2 separate regions of the Homo sapiens genome follow, and region 2 is linked to region 1. Evidence: promoter capture Hi-C in human tissues and cell types (Jung and others, 2019). All regions are on one chromosome and are shown on one strand. Each heading gives the region's core, a stretch centred on a gene start or on the middle of the fragment in contact. The rest is flanking DNA. Distances are from core to core; before and after follow the strand shown. Region 1 holds the start of SYS1 (SYS1 golgi trafficking protein). Region 2 holds the start of ZNF335 (zinc finger protein 335).

The links. Contacts are between HindIII fragments. The study calls those that stand out against the background at their distance.
Region 2: the fragment with the promoter of ZNF335 here is called in contact with the fragment with the promoter of SYS1 in region 1 in 1 of the 25 tissues and cell types used here (lymphoblastoid cells).

The regions. Positions count from the first base shown.
Region 1 is chr20:45,358,821-45,364,886 of GRCh38, forward strand. It overlaps SYS1 (SYS1 golgi trafficking protein), which reads left to right and starts at 4,336. Exons shown (of 4, transcript NM_033542.4): 1 at 4,336-4,495; 2 at 4,709-4,873. The coding sequence starts at 4,712. It overlaps SYS1-DBNDD2 (SYS1-DBNDD2 readthrough (NMD candidate)), which reads left to right and starts at 4,349. Exons shown (of 6, transcript NR_003189.2): 1 at 4,349-4,495; 2 at 4,709-4,873. LOC124904914 (a long non-coding RNA gene) reads right to left here and starts at 4,548. Exons shown (of 2, transcript XR_007067609.1): 1 at 4,248-4,548; 2 at 3,536-4,006. RefSeq lists an enhancer at 4,066-4,505. The HindIII fragment of the contact is 13,954 bases long and covers 1,864-6,066 here.
Region 2 is chr20:45,969,224-45,975,106 of GRCh38, forward strand. ZNF335 (zinc finger protein 335) reads right to left here and starts at 2,980. Exons shown (of 28, transcript NM_022095.4): 1 at 2,899-2,980; 2 at 1,987-2,237; 3 at 228-468. The coding sequence starts at 2,187. RefSeq lists a silencer at 2,492-2,611 and an enhancer at 3,382-3,601. The HindIII fragment of the contact is 24,986 bases long and covers 1-5,883 here.

The DNA of each region.
Region 1 (6,066 bases), core at 3,086-5,585:
ACAGCCCATAACATGGGTACTATTCTGAACTCCACTTTATAGAAGAGGAAACCAACTGAGACTCAGAGACATGAAGTAACTTTCCCAAGGTCACCCAGCAGGACAGCAAGACAGCCAGAGAGCCAGGATTCGAATCTAAGCAGGGCTCTCAAGCCTATGGGCCTATGGGAGAACATTTCCCAAGGGATTTATGGGGGTGGATCCAGAAGGTGACCTTAGCGATTGTCCTTACATGCATGCAGTGGGGCCCCAGTGTGAAAGTGACGAAAGAGACCAAGTGACCAGAGGCACTCCCCTCCCCTCCACCCAAAGGACAGTTTGTCCCAGCTTGTGGCTTTTCGTCACTCTGCCTCTGACCTGAAGTTTAACATTTCATTCATAAGTTTGGAACCACAGACTTGGCAGCGTAGGAAGAACCCTCGTAGACCAGCTAGCTATTCAAATCCAATCCCCTCATATTACAGATGGAAGAAAACCCTGAAGCCGGAATGTGACTCGCCAAGGTCACAGAGCAGTTTTCTGTTGGATGAAGGAGCCGGTTTAGGGTCAACTACAGATCATCTTGTGCTGTAGTTATCAAATGTGGGTGCACCTCTGAATCACTTGGGGAGCTCTCTAAATACACAGATTTCCACACTCTGCTTTGGGAGACTTGAACTGGACTTAGGTTTGCAAACAAGGACTGGAAATTTGAATATCCAGTATGTTCCTCAGGTGATTCAGATGGCACAGGGCCATGACAGCATCTGCAAGTCGGAGTCCAATGTCCCTCTTTCATTTGATAGTTTGGGATACTGGGACCCACCAGGGGACTCGCCCAAGGTCACATAGCAAGCCAGTGGGGCTCTAGTTCAGACTCTGTGGTCTGAAGCAGACTGCTTGTGGTCAAATTTGAAAATGGGCCAATGAAGCTAAACAAAGGGGTTGCCATGATTTTCCCCAGCTCTTGGTTTCCTTCTTGGATCCAAATTAAGACGGAGGATGATGTACATTTCCGAAGCTTGGCAAGGCGGGAATCCAAGAACTGAACTCCCAAAGGGGAAAGGAAAGGGCAGGAGGTTAGCTTGCACGCCCAGTGGGGTTTTCCCAGAGGTGAGCTCCGGACTCCAGGGATGACATCAGACATTCCAGCCAGCCCTAATATCAAAAGCTACCTGTGTTTTCTAGTTCAGCAGAATGGGTAGGCAGGGCCTTTCCTATTGGGAGGAGATGGGGTGGAGTGGGCCCAGCTGTGACGTGAAGGGAGCAGAGCCCAGGAAGAGCCACGCATTCCAGCATCTGCAAGGAAGACAGCTGCCCTGGGTATTGTCAACCTCTGCAGCCCTTTTCTAAGCCTTTCCTCCCATTTCTCCCTAATCCCTCACCCCAGGGCTAACTGAGCAGAGAGATTCACTGCCCCTTTTCCACTTCCTGCTACTCCACCACCTATTTTACTATCTCCCTTCCTTTATTTCCCTCTCCCTCCCTCCCTTCCTCCCTTCTTTCCTGTTCTTTTATTCTAAAATGGCATCTTGGCTGGACACAGCGGCTTATGCCTGTAATCCTAACACTTTGGGAGGCCAAGGTGGGAGGATTGCTTGAGCCCAGGGTTCAGGACCAGCCTGGACAACATAGGGATACCCTGTCTCTACAAAAAAATAAAATTAAATGAAAAATCAAAAAAGCCAAGTGCGGGCCAGGCATGGTGACTCATGCCTATAATCCCAGCACTTTGGGAGGCTGAGGCGGGCAGATCACTTGAGGTCAGGAGTCCAGACCAGCCTGGCCACAATGGTGAAATCCCATCTCTACTAAAAATACAAAAATTAGCTGGGCATGGTGGCACACACCTGTAATCCCAGCTACTCAGGAGGCTGAGGCATGAGAATCGCTCGAACCCGGGAGGCGGAGGTTGCAGTGAGCCAAGATCATGCCACTGCACCCCAGCCTGAGCGACAGAGCAAGACTCCGTTTCAAAAAAAGCCAGGTGTGGTGGCACATGCCTGTGGTCTCAGCTATTCGGGAGGCCGAGGCTTGGGCCTGGGAGTTTGAGGGTGCAGTGAGCCATGATTGCGCCACTGCAAACCAGCATGGGTGACAGATTGAGACCCTGTTTCAAAGAACCAAACTAAACCAAACCAAAACTAAACTAAAAGTCATCTTGATGTTTGGAGTCAGTTGTCCTGAATTTGAATCTCAGCTCTGCTCCCTGTGAGCTCTCTGACCTAGAGAGTCACACCACCTCCCCCCAAGCCTAGTTTCCTCCCCTATAAAAAGGGGACAATAGCTATATTTTCAGATTGTGAGAATTAAACAAGATCATGTAGGCACTTAAGAAACAGATGTTTTCTCAGAAACACTAGATCATGTGCATAATCAGTGAACTAGAGGAATTTGAATACATATTTGTTGGACTGAATTGAGGTGCCTAAAAGAATGGTTGAGCTGGAAAGCACCTAAGAAATCTTTGGGCCTTAATAACTCCCCAACTGGAGTCCAGGGGAACTGTTCAGGGTATTTCCAAATGATAAGGACAATCGCACACTCTCAATAAAGTCTCAAGTTTCTTTACTTTTGTCTGGAATTGTATCAGCTCAAGGTGATAACACGGCTACCACAAGCTGTTCAGAAATTCTGATTGGCAGTTACATGGCTCTTTGATACGTTTTTTTTTTTTTTTTTTTGAGACGGAGTCTCGCTCTGTCGCCCAGGCTGGACTGCAGTGGCGCAATCTCGGCTCACTGCAAGCTTCGCCTCCCAGGTTCACGCCATTCTCCTGTCTCAGCCTCCCGAGTAGCTGGGACTACATGCGCCTGCCACCAGGCCCGGCTAATTTTCTGTATTTTTAATAGAGATGGGGTTTCACCATGTTAGCCAGGATGGTCTTGAACTCCTGACCTTGTGATCTGCCCGCCTCAGCCTCCCAAAGTGCTGGGATTACAGGCATGAGCCACTGTGCCCAGCCTAAGTTTTTTTTTTAATGAGAAAATAATTACTGGAAGGTAGATTAAATGGTGGAAAACGTTAATCATGTCCAACTCCTCATTTCATAAACAGGGAAGCTGAGGTTTAAAGAAGGAAGTGGCTTGCTGGTCACACTGGGTGGCATAGCTGGCCCTAAAACCCAAATTCTTTTCCTGGAACAACTTACTTCCCGTCTTTCCACTTCAGAGAGGGGGAACCTAGGATCAATGAAGTTGATGGGTTTTCGTCTGCTGGAGTAGGAATAAGTGAGTTATCGATTTGCTCTTGCTTTTTCTGTTCTTAACTCATTCAGCAAATATTTACTGACTGTCCACTATTCGGATTTGGAAGATAGATAAAACAGTCATGGCAGCAGAGAGGGTCAGGATTTACTCCTATGTGCGACTTCAGAACCTGTGCCTTTTTCCACTGGACACCCACATTTTAAAACACCCACTACTCTGCCTTCTAATATAGTTCATCTGTGTCTCAGGGCAGGGGCTGTCTTATATATACATGTTCTAGCCTTCCTGCCACCGAGTAGGTGCGAAATCAATGTTGTAGTGTTGAGGAAACACTTGAATTTTATTTATTTATTTATTTATTTATTTATTTATTTAGAGACGGAGTTTTGCTCTTGTTGCCCAGGCTGGAGTGCAATGGCGTGATCTCGGCTCACTGCAACCTCTGCCTCCCGGGTTCAAGCAATTCTCCTGGCTCAGCCTCCCGAGTAGCTAGGACTACAGGCGTGCGCCACCACGCCCCGCTAATTTTGTATTTTTAGCAGAGACGGGGTTTCTCCATGTTGGTCAGGCTGGTCTCGAAACACCGACCTCAGGTAATCCGCCCACCTCAGCCTCCCAAAGTGCTGGGATTACAGGCGTGAGCCACCGCGCCCGACCAACACTTGAATTTTAATACTTACTTTGCTACTAACTGTGTCGTTGAAACAGTATGTTGCTTTCCTTCTCTGGCCCTTAGCTTAACTATCTGTACAGCGGGAACATTGGCAAACTCCTACGTGGAGGAGCTTGCAGGTCCACTTCAAGTTATCAGACTCTAACTAGGAGAAAACATTGAGAATTTAGGCTGAAAATAACGACACAGTTTATCACCTCGTTAATTCCCAAACATCATTACCGCGTCCTAAGCCACCCCACTTGCCTCTCCCCTAGCCGCCTTCCTTTAAAAAAAGAATTCCCCTCTAGAGGGCGCGCAAGCTCTGCGGCCTTCGTTCCTCTCTTCCGTTTGCCTTCACTCTTCCTTCTGCGCATGTGCTCAGTTCGCTATCCGGCTGCTTGTACCTGGTTCAGGAGGTTCAGGCAGAGGTTGCACCCACTACGCCTGCGCAACCTCAGCCCCGCCCCTCCGCTGCTTTCCCCGGAAACGTTTCTTTCCTACGCAGCCGCTCCTGCCGCCGTGGTCGCTGGAGCTTTGCCTCTCTAGGCCGGCAGCGCCTCTCCTCCATGGTCCTGTCTGTCAGCGCTGTTTTGGGAGCCCGCCGGTGAGGCCGGGCCACGCTCAGACACTTCGATCGTCGAGTCTGTCACTGGTGAGTAGACCCCAGAGGAGCTCGTGTACGGGCGGGGGCCGCGCAGGCGGAATGGGCTGGATTTCCCCTCACTCTGAGAATGGGTCTGTCTGCCCCGCCTTCCCCCTGACTCTTGGAATGGGCTCACCCCTTGGTTCCAGTCCCTCCTCCCGGGCGGGGCGACGTTGCCATGGAGACAGGCCGCTGGCTGAGGCCCGGCTCGTGTCCCTGCAGGGCATGGCGGGTCAGTTCCGCAGCTACGTGTGGGACCCGCTGCTGATCCTGTCGCAGATCGTCCTCATGCAGACCGTGTATTACGGCTCGCTGGGCCTGTGGCTGGCGCTGGTGGACGGGCTAGTGCGAAGCAGCCCCTCGCTGGACCAGATGTTCGACGCCGAGGTAGGGTCCCCGGACTGGGGCGGGTGGGGTCTCGGCCTCCCCGAGTAGGCTTTGTGGTCCATCACTACTGTGCTGTAGACGTGGCTGGGTCACCTTCTTTCTTTGTAGCCCTGGGAAAGGGATTTCACCTTTCTGAGCCTCAGCTGCCTCATCCATAAAATGGAATGACAGCAGAGGCTGATTAGTACAAAGAAAAGGGCCTGGATGTTAATACAATAAACACGTCTGTGTTCCAGGCAACTCTGATACATTTCCTTTCTGATACTCTGGGAAAGTGACTTGATTTCTCTGAGCTAGGTTCTCAGGTGCCACATCGGAGAGAGGGGTGGATAAAAGAGCATTCGTGCGGGTACAGTGGAAACTGCCTGGACTTTGGGGTCAGACAGGCGTCCGTTTAAGATCCACTTACTAGCTGTGTGACCTGGGGCAAATGTCACCTCTGTGAACTTGTTTTCCTGTCTTCAAAACCATGAGACTAGTTGCAGAGAGGTCGTGGACTGCAATATAAAGAGCATGTGCTTTGGGTTCAGAAAAGCAAGGGTTCAGTCTAGGCCTAAACATATAAAACTAGCTGTGGGACCTTGGGCAAGTTGCTTCCCCTTTCTGAGCCTTTTCTGAAAAGTGGGCCGGATGCTCCTACCATGTTGCCCTCAACAAAATGTTACAAGGCCCAGAGGGGTTTAGGAATAAGAAGGTACTTTGTAAAGTGTAAAGGAGGCCTATAAGTTGTTACATCTAAGAGGCAGCTGTGGCGTGGTGATGAGCACAGTTCTTTTTTTTTTTTTTTTTTTTTTTTGAGACGGAGTCTCCCTCTGTCGCCCAGGCTGGAGTGCAGTGGCAGGATCTCGGCTCACTGCAAGCTCCGCCTCCCGGGTTCACGCCATTCTCCTGCCTCAGCCTCCCAAGTAGCTGGGACTACAGGCGCCCGCCACTACGCCCGGCTAATTTTTTGTATTTTTAGTAGAGACGGGGTTTCACCGTTTTAGCCGGGATGGTCTCGATCTCCTGACCTCGTGATCCGCCTGCCTCGGCCTCCCAAAGTGCTGGGATTACAGGCGTGAGCCACCGCGCCCGGCCGAGCACAGTTCTTAAAGCCAGGAGACCTGGGATGGAGTCCTTGCTCCTGCTGCTTGTTCTCTGTGTTAGCCCTTGGGCAAGTTATTATCCAAAAAGTGATAAGAATTAAAAGAAGA
Region 2 (5,883 bases), core at 1,730-4,229, 610 kb after region 1:
AGTTTATATTATTTATTGAGAGTCTGTCATGCCAGGCGCTAGGCTGAGAACTTTACAGTGTTGTCTCATTAAATCCTCATTTACCACCATGAGACAGGGGTGACTGTTCCCACTCTGCACATTCCACATGGGAAAGTAATCTGCCTGAGTTCACACAGCTAGGGTGGGCACAGCTGGCTGCCGGACACTGCAGGAAAACCCCTGTGGGGCTCCTCTGCCTGACTCACTCTGGATGAGGTCGGGCCCGATGGTGGACTCGATGATCTTGTCGATGGCCGAGCCCAGGTCCGAGGAGGAAGCTGTGCAGTCGGACACCAGCATGTTGGGGTCTGGGAGTGCACTAGAGTGCACAAGTGCTGGGGGACCGCCTGTCACCCCTGCCACTGGCCCATGAGACACAGACGATGAATCAGGGAGGTAGCTATTAGGCAGGGGGTCTGCGCTCGAGCTGCTCTCAGATACCTCCTCCTGAGGGGCATGAAACAGGGAGGGAAAAAGTTTAGCAGCTGGGTATGGGGCAGGGCAGCCTGCCAGCTCCCACTTGCTAGACAGAGCTCTCAGGCCCAAGGACATGGTCAGTGGAGCCACTCATGCCCTCAGCCCCACGGAGGACCAGTGAGAGAGGCCCTCCAGTCACAGAGTCCCCCAGGAAAAAGTCACAGGGTCCCTGGATCTCATCAGGGAATACACAAAAATAAGAGAAGGGACTCCTAAGCCACAGCCAGGGGGAGCTATTTTCTTTGGGCTTTTGCATAAATCGTTCCCTCTGCCTGAAACTCTTCCCAGCATCACCCTATGGCTAAATCTTACCCAGCCTTCTCACCACCATTTAGCTGGTACCTCTTCTAGGAAGTCAATGCTGGCTTTGAGGCCAAGTCAGGACTTCTTCATCCTCAGTGCTGCAGCTGCCTGTGTCCCCAGCACCACACCACTGTGGGGTTCATTGTGCCTTTTAACAGCCTCCATGCCAGACTGTGCCCTCCACAAGGGCCTGGACCAAACTTGTCTTTTCCTCTGCTGTATTTCCAGGGCCCAGCACACGCTGAGCACATGGTAGGCCCCCATCTCTGCTGAACTAATGAAACCCCAGGACCCCAAAGTGATGACCACTGCTGTGTACTTCTATCACGTGATATACTGAATATGACCATTATCTTGCATATAAGAATGGCTAATACTTACTGAGTGCTTACAATGTGCTGAGCACTGTTTTAATTATTAGCTTTGCATATGTTAATTCATTTCATCCTCACAAAAACTCTATGAGGCAGGTATATTTACCATTCCCACTTTACAGACGAGGAAACAGAGCTAGATGTTGGGTAGCTTGCTCAAGATCACACGGCTAGGAAGTGGCACAGCCAGGAGGAGATGGTTTACAAAATGTTTGCAAGAGGATGTCTGGTGGGAGCTCACAATCAAGCACCCTTGAAAGCAAGTATTTCTGCTTTACTTTAGCCGGGATACTGAGGCTCAAAGAGGTCTCCCAGTAAACTGGAGGCAGGACCCAGTCTTAACCCAGGGCACTTGCGTTTTTTTTTTTTTTTTTGTAGAGATGAGGTCTCGCTATTTGCCCAAGCTGGTCTCCAACTCCTGGGCTCAAGTGATCCTCCCACCTCAGCCTTCCAAAGTGCTGGGATTACAGGCGATGAGCTACCACTCCTGGCCTAGACATCTGCCTCTCAAAGTGTGAGGACTGTGGGTAGTATAGTAGCTAAGACCACAGCCTAGATTTGAATCCTGGCTCTGTCTGCACTCTGTACCTCGGCATCCTTTTCTATAAGATGTGGGAAAAAATGGTATGTGTCTTAGAAGGTATGAAGCTCAAATGAGAAAATCCATTTTAGGGGTTTGGCTTGGTGCCTGGCTCACAGTAAACCAGAAACACCAAGTATTAGCTACAAACAAGCCTTGTTTCCTCTTGGCTGTCAGGCACTGCTGCTCGCGGTCCTTGCCTCCACCCACGCCGTCCAGCCGGGTCCATACCTGAGAACGGCTGCCGCGGTCCGAGCTTTGCCCCACGCCAGAGTCATCGGCCTCTGCCTGCCCCGGGGCGGCCGCGGCGTCGCTGCTGTCGGCGGACACGGCTTCTGAGGTGCCCACACCCAGGCCGCTCTCAGAGGGCTCCTCGGGCCGGCCAGGCCCAGGGGCCGCGTCGCTGCTGCTCTCCACCTCGTTCTCCTCCATCTGATCGGCGGGCTGCCTGACAGCGGGGCGTAGGGTCTGGGAACTTCACTCTGAGAAGAGAGGTGACCGTGGCTGGAACAAGTGGGCCATCTCCCCAGCCCCGGCAACCACGGCCACCCATTTGCACCCCTGCGCCCATTTTGCAGATGCGAAGATTGAGTCTCCGACGGGGCGGAGCTTCCTGGTGTATTGCGAGGGGAGCTCGGGAAAAACTTGACGGAGAAGCTGTGCTTCCCAGGCTAAGGCCCTTCCCGGGAGGGTGGTCAATGGCTGGTAATCTTGACCCTTTCCCTCGCCCCCACGATTCTCGTGGAGCGTTCCGCTCTGTGAGCCCCATCCGGGCCCAGTGGTTCAGCCCTTCGGCCCCCGCGTCCCCCCGGGTTGCAGGGCCGGTGGTACAGCCCGCTGGCCCCCTGGGTCAGTGGTTCGCTCCCCCCCGGTTCCCCTGCGGAGGCGGCTGACAGCGACGGTCTCGGGGCCTGGCGATTTGGGGCTGTCCCCGGCGCTGCCTGTGCTCCAGGCCCGACGCCATCTTGTGGTGGCGCCGGGTTTCCGCTCAGGCAAGTGCGAGAGCGACTAAAGGGCCTGGGACCCCGGGGCCCTGTTCGGACAGCCCCGCCGGCCTGGGACCTCGCCTCCGGGTATCCCCGCAGTGTGACCTCACTCCACGGCAGGGTACGGTGGGGCCGCCTAACTCTACCCGAAGCTCACCCGAGGCTTTCGTAGCCACGTTCCTCTCTGACTCCGGCATCGACGAGGTCGCCATCCTCTTTCCTCCGCTGCGGAGGAACCCATCGGCCTATTGTAGGCCGGAACTACTTCCCCCGCTGGCCCCGGGAAAGACACATTTTCAGTGTTCCGGAAGGTCGCTCCGAGGCCTCAAAACCATAATCGGGTCTCAACAGACTCTGGGACTTTATACGTCGCCCGGTGTTTGGCACTGAGCCCACTATGGTTTGGGGACTACTTTATCTCGGCGGAGTGTTACGTAGGAAGTGGTTGTGACGTCATTCTGGTCCCTTCCCTAGGCCGCAGGGTTGGGCGCGGCGAATGCGCGCCCCGCTCTCTTGGGGCGTGGCTCCCAGTGGGGGGCGTGGCTCCCGGTGGCTTGGCCGCGCCCCTCCTACAACAGCCCGGAAGAGCGTGTGGCCGCGGGCGACTTTGGCTTGGCCAAAGAGGAATTCATGTTGTCAGTCATTTTACCTGACTCATTACTTATTACTTAGCGCGCTGCTGCAACCCAATCGAGCTCTGCCCGTTAGGTTTGATGTGTTTTGTTGGGAAGGGAATGTATAATTATTGTACAGATAGGGAAACTGAGGTCTGGGTATGGGAAGGGCTGGTCCAAAATCACATCCAATAAAGGGACTCAGGAGCTAAGTACGGATGGCAGGAGTCGGGGAAATGGAAAGAAGTTAATGCTTGTCCCTTAGGTTTGTATACATATTTGTTAACATTAATAGAGCTGAGGCCGGGCGCTGTGAGTCACGCCTGTAATTCCAACACTTTGGGACGCCAAGGCAGGAGAATCGCTTGATCCCAGGAGTTCCAAACCAGCCTGGGCAAAAGAGCGAGACCCCATCTCTACAAAAAAAAGAAAAAAAAGAAAAATTAGCCAGGCATGGTGGCGCGTGCCTATAATCCCAGTTGCTCGGGAGGCTGAGGTGGGAGGATCGCTTGAGTCTGGGAGGTTGAGGCTGCAGCGAACCGTGATCACACCACTGCACTTCAGCCTGGGCGACAGAGCGAGACCCTCTTTCAAAAAATAAATAAATACAAGTCAACTACCTATCCTTTAAAAGTGGAGAAAGAAAAAAAATTTTAATTAAAAGTCAGCTGCCCTTAAGGTATGTCCTTCCTCCGGAAATGTCACCTTCTGTTTTAAGACTTTTAGCAGTTTGCAGTGGAAGAGCACAAGAGGGAGTAAGGCGCTCTGGTTTTTGTCCCTAAGTCTCTGTAGTTCCATAGGCTATTTTCCTTAATTGAAAGATACAAATTTTGGGGGAAAAAAATCTCAAAAAAACTCCTAAGCAGGCTGGGCGCGGTGGCTCACGCCTGTAATCTCAGCACTTTGGGAAGCTGAGTCGGGCGGATCACCTGAGGTTGGGAGTTTGAGACCAGCCTGATCAACATGGAGAAACCCCATCTGTACGAAAAATACAAAAGCAGCTGGGCGTGGTGGCGCATGCCGTAATCCCAGCTATTCAGGAGGCTGAGCCAGGACAATAGCTTGAACCCGGGAGGCAGAGGTTGCGGTGAGCCGAGATCACGCCATTGCCTTCCAGCCTGGGGAACAACAGCGGAAACTCTTGTCTCAAACAAACAAACAAAAAGTCCTAAGGAGAAGACCTATTAATAAGGAGAAAAGGTCCGGGCTCGGTGGGTCACACCTGTAATAACCAGCACTTTGGGAGGCTGAGGCCGGTGGATCACTTGAGGTCAGGAGTTCGAGACCAGCCTGGCCAACATGGTGAAACTGTCTCTACTAAAAATACAAAATTTCACTGGGTGTGGTGGCGCGCGCCTGTAGTCCCAGCTACTCGAGAGGCTGAGGCAGGAGAATCGCTTGAAGCCCAGAGGCGGAGGTTGCCGAGATTGTGCCATTGCGACAAGAGAGAAACTCCGCTTCAAAAAATAAATAAATAAATAAAAATAAAAAGGACAAAGGGTGCTTTGAGCTGTTATTTGTGTGCACTTGTGTATGAGGGGATTCATCTGGTCCTTTTCTTAGGTAAAGTTTTCTTTCCTAGGTTTCCCTTTTGGGTTGAGGGAATGGAACAGGAGGCCTCTGGATAGGTTAGGACCCTCATCCCCTATCCCTTGCAACCAGCAGGACCAGGCCCCAGAGCAGCTCTGAAGAGCTAGGTCAGCACTGGCATGATGACATGTTGGTTTTACTATCTCCAGGCAGTTTTCCCGTGTGGACCCCATTCCTCAGCCCTACAGAAGCATCTGCCCCCTCATGCCAGTAGGGTAGTAGGGTGCATCCTACATCTGACCAAGTCACCTCTCCCAAGTTTGGGGTACTCCGAAGTAGCCCCACAGTACCCTCATTCCCTTCCCCACTAAGACTGAAGCCTCCTAGGAGGTAGAGTCTGCAGTGAACTATGAGTGCGCCACTGCACTCTGGCTTTGGTGAGAGAGTGAGACCCTGTCTATTAAAAAGAAAAAAAAAAGACTCAACCTTAATCCTGGCCTTTGCCACAGCATCACAAGATTGCAGAATGTCATGGTACAGATGAAACAGACTCATCATGAAACCGAAGAGGAGCCCAAGGCCCAGAGGGGGAAAGCTAACAGCCCAAGGTCTCGGCTCCTTGGAAACAACATACCAGAACCCTTCCATCACAAAGACAAGCAGGCAAATCCTTGTATTCTGCCTGTGAATCCAGGGTTTGTTCCTCCAGAGAGTGCAGTCTAGTTCTGGTCTCAGCTTTATTTTTTTGTTTTCTCTTTAAAATTTGTTTTATCTTTTAAAAAATTGTTTATAAAGATGGGGACTAGCTATTTTGCCCAGGCTGGTCTCGAACTCCATGGCCCCAGCTTAGAGAGACTTATGGAAGCAGTGAAGGGGCTCTGGGTCAGAGGACATTAAAGTGGACCATTGAGAAAAATGTAGAAGAGCCAAGAGGGAAAGAGGAGGGAAGATGCCAGGCAGTGTGTGTGCTTTCTGAGTCATGTTTTGTTTTTTTTTTT